Linked DNA regions of Homo sapiens: region 1 is linked to region 2. The links are contacts of gene promoters, found by promoter capture Hi-C in blood cells and fetal thymus (Javierre and others, 2016). All regions are on one chromosome and are shown on one strand. Each heading gives the region's core, a stretch centred on a gene start or on the middle of the fragment in contact. The rest is flanking DNA. Distances are from core to core; before and after follow the strand shown.

The links. Contacts are between HindIII fragments. The CHiCAGO score rates a contact against its expected background, and 5 or more counts as called.
Region 1: a fragment that was not itself captured here is called in contact with the fragment with the promoter of NOP2 in region 2 in 1 of 17 cell types (activated CD4 T cells); the score reaches 6.3 in activated CD4 T cells.

What each region holds. Positions count from the first base shown.
Region 1 is chr12:7,638,289-7,642,425 of GRCh38, forward strand. No RefSeq gene overlaps it. Among named protein-coding and RNA genes, the nearest start is that of APOBEC1, 26 kb to the right of the region's middle. RefSeq lists an enhancer at 1-92 and silencers at 534-663, 1,745-1,844. The HindIII fragment of the contact is 2,319 bases long and covers 144-2,462 here.
Region 2 is chr12:6,565,802-6,569,748 of GRCh38, forward strand. It overlaps NOP2 (NOP2 nucleolar protein), which reads right to left and starts at 2,490. Exons shown (of 16, transcript NM_001258308.2): 1 at 2,406-2,490; 2 at 2,015-2,121; 3 at 976-1,021; 4 at 728-816; 5 at 300-535. The coding sequence starts at 2,117. CHD4-AS1 (CHD4 antisense RNA 1) reads left to right here and starts at 2,570. Exons shown (of 3, transcript NR_199067.1): 1 at 2,570-3,729. RefSeq lists enhancers at 2,340-2,961, 2,785-2,834. The HindIII fragment of the contact is 18,468 bases long and covers 1-3,947 here.

The DNA of each region.
Region 1 (4,137 bases), core at 53-2,552, 1.1 Mb after region 2:
GAATGACACGCCTGGTCAAACCAATCTCCTGGGCCCTATGCAAATTAGACACCTCCTCCTCCAGCCTCCTGCTATAACAAACTACTCTGCCACACACGGGGTTTCTCTCTGGGAGCCCCCCTCCCTCTGTCCCTGTACTGGGAAGCTTCTTCCTTCTTTCTTGCTTATTAAACTCTCCACTCCTTAAAACCACTCTACATGTGTCCATGTCGCTTTATCTAAAACGATGTTAGACCAAGGACCCTGCTGTTCTTCCATTCATCAGAGCAGTTATCATTTTGGTTGCATTGACCGGGAATTCATTCATCGGAGTGGTGACTATAGAGCGAGCCCCAACCTCAAATCTCTCCTTCAATTTCAAGGCTCTCTTCTTACTATCCTGTTGCAAAATTTTCCTTCTTTCTCTATCCACGGTCTCTTACTCTCTCTCTGTGAAAAGTGCAGGGAGTTTTACAGTTCAGTGAAACAGGTCTGCTAGGAAAGATGGCAAACGCAGCAGGCAGTAACTCAACAAGCCCGCTCTCTGTGGCTGCGCTGGTGAGCATATAGTATTTCTAAGCCAACAGCGCCACCTAGTGGAAGTAGAAATCCTCTTCAGGGGCCACATTTTTTACGGTAACACTGAACTTCCTTTTGCACCACCAGAAATCAGGCTCTAACCTACTTCTGTGAACCGGAAAGTTCTGCCTTCAGCAATTAGAAGTAATATGTCCTCGACCGGGCATGGTGGCTTACGCCTGTAATCCCAACACTTTGGGAGGCCAAAGCGGGTGGATCACGAGGTCAGGAGTTCGAGACCAGCCTGGCCAATATGGTGAAACCCCGTCTCTACTAAAAACACAAAAATTAGCTGGGCGTGGTGGTGCACACCTGCGGTCCCAGCTGCTCAGGAGGCTGAGGCTATTGAATTGCTTAAAACGGGGAAGCAGAGGTTGCAGTGAGCTGAGATTACGTCACTGCACTCCAGCCTGGGTGACAGTGAGACTCTGTCTCAAAAAGAAGTAATATGTCTGCTGCCACATTTTAGTCTTGATATTGTCCCATAAGCAGGAAAATGGCCATTCTGTTCCTACGCTCTTTTAAGACATCTAATCTGTTTCCTGTTAAAATGGTATAATTAGTAGGGAGATTTTAAGTTCAGAAGTTAACCAGAACCATTTTTCTGAGGGTAAATGGTTTGGCATGGGCCATAATAGCAGGCAGTCTAGCACATTGCCTCTGTTAAAGGAGCCTTGACCAAAAACAACACAGTCTCTCCAAAGATCAATTTTTCAGGGAGCCAGGTAGATCACATAGGCTTAGGAAGTCAAAGGGAATCACACAAGGCAGATAAGCTAAGGTTGCGTGGGTAAAGTGTGGTTAATCCCATTGAGAGGTGACAGCGTGCTAGCAGTCCTCACAGCTCTCGCTCGCTCTCGGCGCCTCCTCTGCCTGGGCTCCCACTTTGGCGGCACTTGAGGAGCCCTTCAGCCCACCGCTGCACTGTGGGAGCCCCTTTCTGGGCTGGCGAAGGCCGCAGCCCGCTCCCTCAGCTTGCAGGGAGGTGTGGAGGGAGACGCGCGAGCGGGAACCGGGGCTGCGCGCGGCGCTTGCGGGCCAGCTGGAGTTCCGGGGGGGCGTGGGCTTGGCGGCCCCGCACTCGGAGCAGCCGGCCGGCCCTGCCGGCCCGGGGCAGTGAGGGGCTTAGCACCCGGGCCAGCGGCTGCGGAGGGTGTACTGGGTCCCCCAGCAGTGCCAGCCCACCGGCGCTGCGCTCGATTTCTCACCGGGCCTTAGCTGCCTTCCCGCGGGGCAGGCCTTGGGACTGCAGCCCGCCATGCCTGAGCCTTCCCCCGCCTCCGTGGGTTCCTGTGCAGCCGGAGCCTCCCCGACGAGCGCCGCCCCCTGCTCCACGGCGCCCAGTCCCATCGACCGCCCAAGGGCTGAGGAGTGCAAGCGCATGGCGTGGGACTGCAGCGCCGGTGCGGGATCCACTGGGTGAAGCCAGCTGGGCTCCTGAGTCTGGTGAGGACGTGGAGAATTTATGTTTAGCTCAGGGATTGCAAATACACCAATGGACACTCTGTATCTAGCTCAAGGTTTGTAAACACACCAATCAGCACCCTGTGTCTAGCTCAGGGTTGTGAGCGCGCCAATCGACACTCTGTATCTAGCTGCTCTGGTGGGGCCTTGGAGAACCTTTGTGTGGATACTCTGTATCTAACTAATCTGATGGGGAGGAGGAGAACCTTTGTACCTAGCTCAGGGATTGTAAACGCACCAATCAGCGCCCTGTCAAAACAGACCACTCGCCTCTACCAATCAGCAGGATGTGGTTGGGGGGGGGCCAGATAAGAGAATAAAAGCAGGCTGCCCGAGTTGGTAGTAGTAACCCGCTCGGGTGTCTCTCTGCCTTGGTGGGGCTTTGTTCTTTCGCTCTTGGGGTCCATACTACTTTTGTGAATTACAGCACTCACCACGAAAGCTTGCGAGACCACGAGCCTACCGGGAGGAACGAACAACTCCCGACGCGCTGCCTTAAGAGCTGTAACAGTGACCGCAAAGGTCTGCAGCTTTACTCCTGAGCCCGCCAGACCATGAACCCACCAGAAAGAAAAAACTGAACACACCTGCACATCAAAAGGAACAAACTCCAGACGCGCCACCTTAAGAGCTGTAACACTCACCGTGAGGGTCTGCGGCTTCATTTTTGAAGTCAGTGAGACCAAGAACCCACCCATTCCGGACACACCATCACTTAGTTCATCCGCTCCCATGGCTTGGGGGACCATGCTTACAATCGTGGGTGGCACATTTAACAGGGTCCCAGGAACCAGGGAAGGAAAACAGGACACTCCACTGTGTTATTCTCCGTCGGGGGTCATAGGGAATCAAAGTAGATTAAAAGGACACTTTTATTGCTTTTCTTTCTAGATGGGTAACAGATTATCTTCAGTTTGTGCCCCTCTGGCGTGCACTCTGAAACACTGAAACTTTCTTAGCCTCAGGACATTAAAGAGAAGAGCAACTCATTTTATTTTGCACAAGGGCATGGTATTTTTACTGAAACTTTGCAAGCAGTGTAAGATCAACCCAGCTCTTTTAGGAATCATATCAGGCACGCTCACTGAAAATAATTCCCCAAAATTAGAAAAGCAACTTCCAGAGGAGCCATCTGAAGATCCCCCTTCTTTGGGGGCCCCTTCAAGTTCCCTTCTCGTTACAGCCCCTTAGGCCTGTAATAAAGGGAGACTTAGCCAATTTTCTCACAACCCTGATAGGTATATAAAAGCTTTCCAGGCTGGGCGCAGTGGCTCACGCCTGTAATCCCAACACTTTGGGAGGCTGAGGCGGGCAGATCACGAGGTCAAGAGATTGAGACCATCCTGGTCAACATGGTGAAACCCCGTCTCTACTAAAAATACAAAAATTAGTTGGGCGTTGTGGCATGTGCCTGTAATCTCAGCTACTTGGGAGGCTGAGGCAGGAGAATCGCTTGCACCCAGGATGTGGAGGTTGCAGTGAGCCAAGATCACGGCACTGAACTCCAGCCTAGCAATAGAGTGAGACTCCGTCTCAAAAAAAAAGCTTTCCAAAATTTAACTCAGGTATTTCACCTCAGATGGAAGGATGTTATGTTGCTCCTAAGTCAGACCCTCACTGCAGCTGAAAAGCAGGCAGCTCTGATTTCAGAGATTAGCAACATATCTCCTATAATACACCAAAAGGGAAGAAAGCAGATAAGGAAAGAGAAGAAATAGCAGAAATGCCATTCCCAATTGGGAGGAAAGCAGTTTCCCTTGACAACCCTAATTGGGACCCCAATAACTCAGGAGATGAAAAGGAAGCTCTTTTTTAAGTGTGCATTAGAGGGCCTACGGAAAACCAGGGCCAAACCTCTCAATTACTCTAAACTGTCCATGATAAACAGCCAGATGAGAATCTTGTAGCCTTTATGGAAAGGCTGAGAGAGGCACTAACAGAACACCCCTCCTTATCCCCTGATTCAGTCGAGGGACAGCTCATCCTAAAGGACAAGTTTATTAGACAGGCAGCTGCCAATATTAAAAGGAAACTACACAAGCAAGCTATAGGACCAGATAGCACCTTAGAGAACTTCCTGAAAGTGGCCACTTTGGTCTTTTGTAATAGGAACCA
Region 2 (3,947 bases), core at 1,240-3,739:
AGATAACTGCTTTATAAAAAGTGCATTTCTGTGCCCATCAGTGGAGCACACCATTGTCCACCTTCCCATACCTACACCAAGACAGCCTTCTAGATTTTTTTAAATGCTCTATCCTACAGCTCTTTCAAACTTGTAGTGCACTGGGAGGATATAAGGCAGTAGGGAAACAGTGATGGAGCACAAAAACCCCTTTCCTCTAGTCAGGCTTATCCTTGCCACTAAGAAACAGTCTCAAGAATCTGGGAAAGAAACTAAATAGCAAGGATCCTTCTATGAATGCCCAAAAAGATGAATCTCACCGCTTCACCTTCCTCCTCATCCTCAGAGTTGGAGTCAGCTCCATAGTCATCTACCGTATCAGCATCGTCCTCGGAGCCCCAGAGGTCCCCGTGGTTCACCATACCATCTTCTTCAGAGTCTTCCTCCTCCTCTTCCTCATCACTGCCAGGTGCTGGGCGCTTCTTGCCTCGAGGAGCATTAAATAGGGACTGGGGTCCCTTCTTACCAGCTGTCTGGACAGCTCCTGCAGAGATCCCTAAGGGTTTGAAGAGTCCTGGACTAATGGCAGCCACACATTCCCTGGCCCCACACCCTGGGAGCCTGTACTTTCTACCCCTCAGAATGTCCTTTGGCTGTTCCTTTCACTCCGGAAATGTTTAGCGAGTTCTTCCCTACCCAGGACCCAAAGGGACTCCTCATGTAGCATCCAGCTCTTAGTTTCACGGACCTTTTGGTAGCTTTCCAGGCAATGGTTTGGCCTCAGGAGACTTATTTGTCTTAGGGGCTTCAACAGAGCCCAATCTCCTCTTGGCTGCCCTGAAAAGACACAAGAGATTCAAGGAGTGAAGAAATGGGAAGATACTTCCAGGCTCTGCCATTTCCACCATAGGGAAATGTGAGAGTCTAGAATTAACTCTGTGGTCAAAGATGAGCAGTACCAATTTAACCTACTTAAGTTTTGACACCCACACTTACCTCTTTCGAGCACGACTAGACAGCCTCTTGGAATTTTCGTCACTTACTGTTTAAAAAAGAAAAACGAGGCAGAACAAGTTACAGGGGACATTAAAAATAAATGGGAACGGAAATAAACATGGTAAGAGAATTAGTACACTAATTAAAAGGAGTCCATTTAAATCTCAGCCCTGTTATTATTTAATAACTGTATACAAGTTTCTTTTTTTTTTTTGAAATGGAGTTTCACTCTTGTCTTCCAGGCTGGAGTGCAATGGCGTGATCTCAACTCACTGCAACCTCCTTCTCCCAGATTCAAGCGATTCTATTGCCTCAGCCTCCCATCACCACACCCAGCTAATTGTTGTATTTTTAGTAAAGACAGGGTTTCACCATGTTGGCCAGGCTGGTCTCGAACACTGGACCTCAGGTGATCCACCTGCCTCGGCCTCCCAAAGTGTTTCCTTAATAGTGCCTCTCTCACAGGACTCTAAGATGATTAAGCGATATAACATGACCAACAAGTTTAATACAGTGCCCAGGACTTCCTACTATCTCAATAAACTGCATCCTTTATCCAATGCCCAACACAAACTCCCGGTCCAGTGTTACCTCCCACCAGTCTTCCACACAGTATACTACTACTCGGCATGAAGCAGCCAGATCCGTGCTTTTCCATTTCCACCCCTTCCAAAAGGCAAATCAGTGACTGACCCCTCCCCTTCACTACTTCCTCTTGCTACAATGTTACCCATTTTTCAAAACCCAGCTTAACAAAAACTTTTACAGTTCTGCATGGGCTCCCCCTTCCTCTGAACTCACAATTGTTTTAAATCACACTTTTCCCTTGCATGAATAATAGTTGTGTCCGTGTCTTCACATCTCTACGACCTAAACAGTTCCCTACAATCTAAACGGCTGTTTCATTCATACCTCCTAGTAACTCATACAGAGAAGATTCCACTTAAATATAAAATGAACAGAAACTAAAAAAGAGAAGAGGTTATAATACAGAATACTGCAAAAGCTGAGGGATCAGGAGGCCACAACTAATCCTTACCTGCAGGCAAGAATCTGACGAGTTCTGTCTCGGCACCCTTCTGCTTCCGGGCCTTTCGGCCTGGCCCCCGCTTCTCCTTCGTAGGGTCCAACTTGCGCCCCATGGTACTGTGGCAGGCAGAAATGGGAGAAGGTGGCGTCGCGCGTGTCGGAGGGAACGGCAGAACGCACGCTTGGCGTATTATAGTGGGAAAGGGCACAGCCTCAACTCAGCACCCGCAACTCACTCAGCACTCCCGACTCAGCACCCGCGACTCAAGCACCCCCGCTATCCCCCTGGAGGCCCGACCGAACGCCCTCCCACCTGAAACCCAGGTAGCGCACCCTTCTCCCCACGTCCCAGACCAGGTCAGTGCTGCCACTCTTCGTCCCCCAATTTCCTCTAGACCCACCAGAATGCGGGTTAATGTCCGAGAGTGCCCTTCGGGCGGCCCTCCACGTGCAATCCGGACCTAGCTTTCGGCCGGCACTCGCCACAGAATCGTTCCACGCAGGCGCACGGGTAGCGCTAGCCTCGCGGCCCCGCCTCTTCCTGTTGCGCCTAGTCGGCCGCCGCACCCGGAACTTACGCTCGCCCTGGGAACGCCAGCGGAGCCGGCGGCGGCGAGTAGGGGGCAATTCGAAGGAGACGCGCAGCTTACACCCGCGGCGGGTGGAGGGAGCAATGTGACGAAACCATTGAGCTTGACCGACCTTCCCTCATGGAGTTGGCTTTTAGCCTCACGGCCGGTTTCTGTTGGGTGAAAGCCGCACCTTCTCCTCGAACCAGGGCCCGACATTGGAGCCCTCTCCCTCGCATCCACTGCCCTAGTCCAGCGTCAAGATCACGGAATTCCAGGCTGGGCGCAGTGGCTCACGCCTGTAATCCCAGCACTTTGGGAGGCTGAGGTGGGTGGATCACTTGAGGTCAGGAGTTCGAGACCAGCCTGGCCAATATGGTGAAACCCTGCTTCTACTAAAAATACAAAATTAGCCGGGCGTGGTGGCGGGCGCCTATAATCCCAGCTACTCGAGAGGCTGAGGCAGAATTGCTTGAGCCCGGGAGGCGGAGGTTGCAGTAAGCCGAGATCGTGCCACTTAAGCCTCACCAAGAGCGAAACTCCACCTCAAAAAAAAAAAACAAAAAAACCAGCCGGGCTCGGTGGCTCACGCCTGTAATCCCAGCACTTTGGGAGGTCGAGGCGGGCGGATCACGAGGTCAAGAAATCCGAGACCATCTTGGCCAACCTTGTCTCTATTAAAAATACAAAAATTAGTTGGGCATGGTGGCTGGCGCACGCGTGTAGTCCCAGCTACTCGGGAGGCTGAGGCAGGAGAATCGCTTGAACCCGGGAGGGGGAGGTTGCAGTGAGCTGAGATCGCGCCACTGTACTCCAGCCTGGCAACAAAGCGAGACTCCATCTCAAAACAAACAAACAAAAAAAACCGTGGAATTCCATGCCACTTACCTCCTCCTCTTTGCCCCTTTTTTAAAAATCTTTTTATAGAGACGGGTTGTAGGGGGTGGCGTCTCACTATATTGCCAGGGCTGGTCTAGAACTCCTGGGCTTAAGCGATCCTCCTGCCCCCACCTTTGTGCTGAGATTACAGGCTGTGAGCCACCGTGCCCCGCCCTCCCAGCACCTTCCTTGATGCTGACCCCTGCTCAGCCCCTCAATTAAGGTGCTGCACTGCACCTCATTCGCAGGGGGCCTCTTCGCCGGAACTCGCTTTCAGGTGGGTCTACAATTAGTTGGGAAACAACGGGTTGCAAGGCTGACCTGGTCTGGGACATGAGAAGGGGTGAACTACAAGGGTTTCAAGGTTGGAGGACGTTAGGTCGGGCCTCCGGGGGTGTGGGATTGAGGCTGTGTTCTTCCACAAATTGCATCCCAATTTTGCACAACTTAGCAAGAAAACCCCCCTCAGCCTTCCTAGAAACTAACATTAAGGTA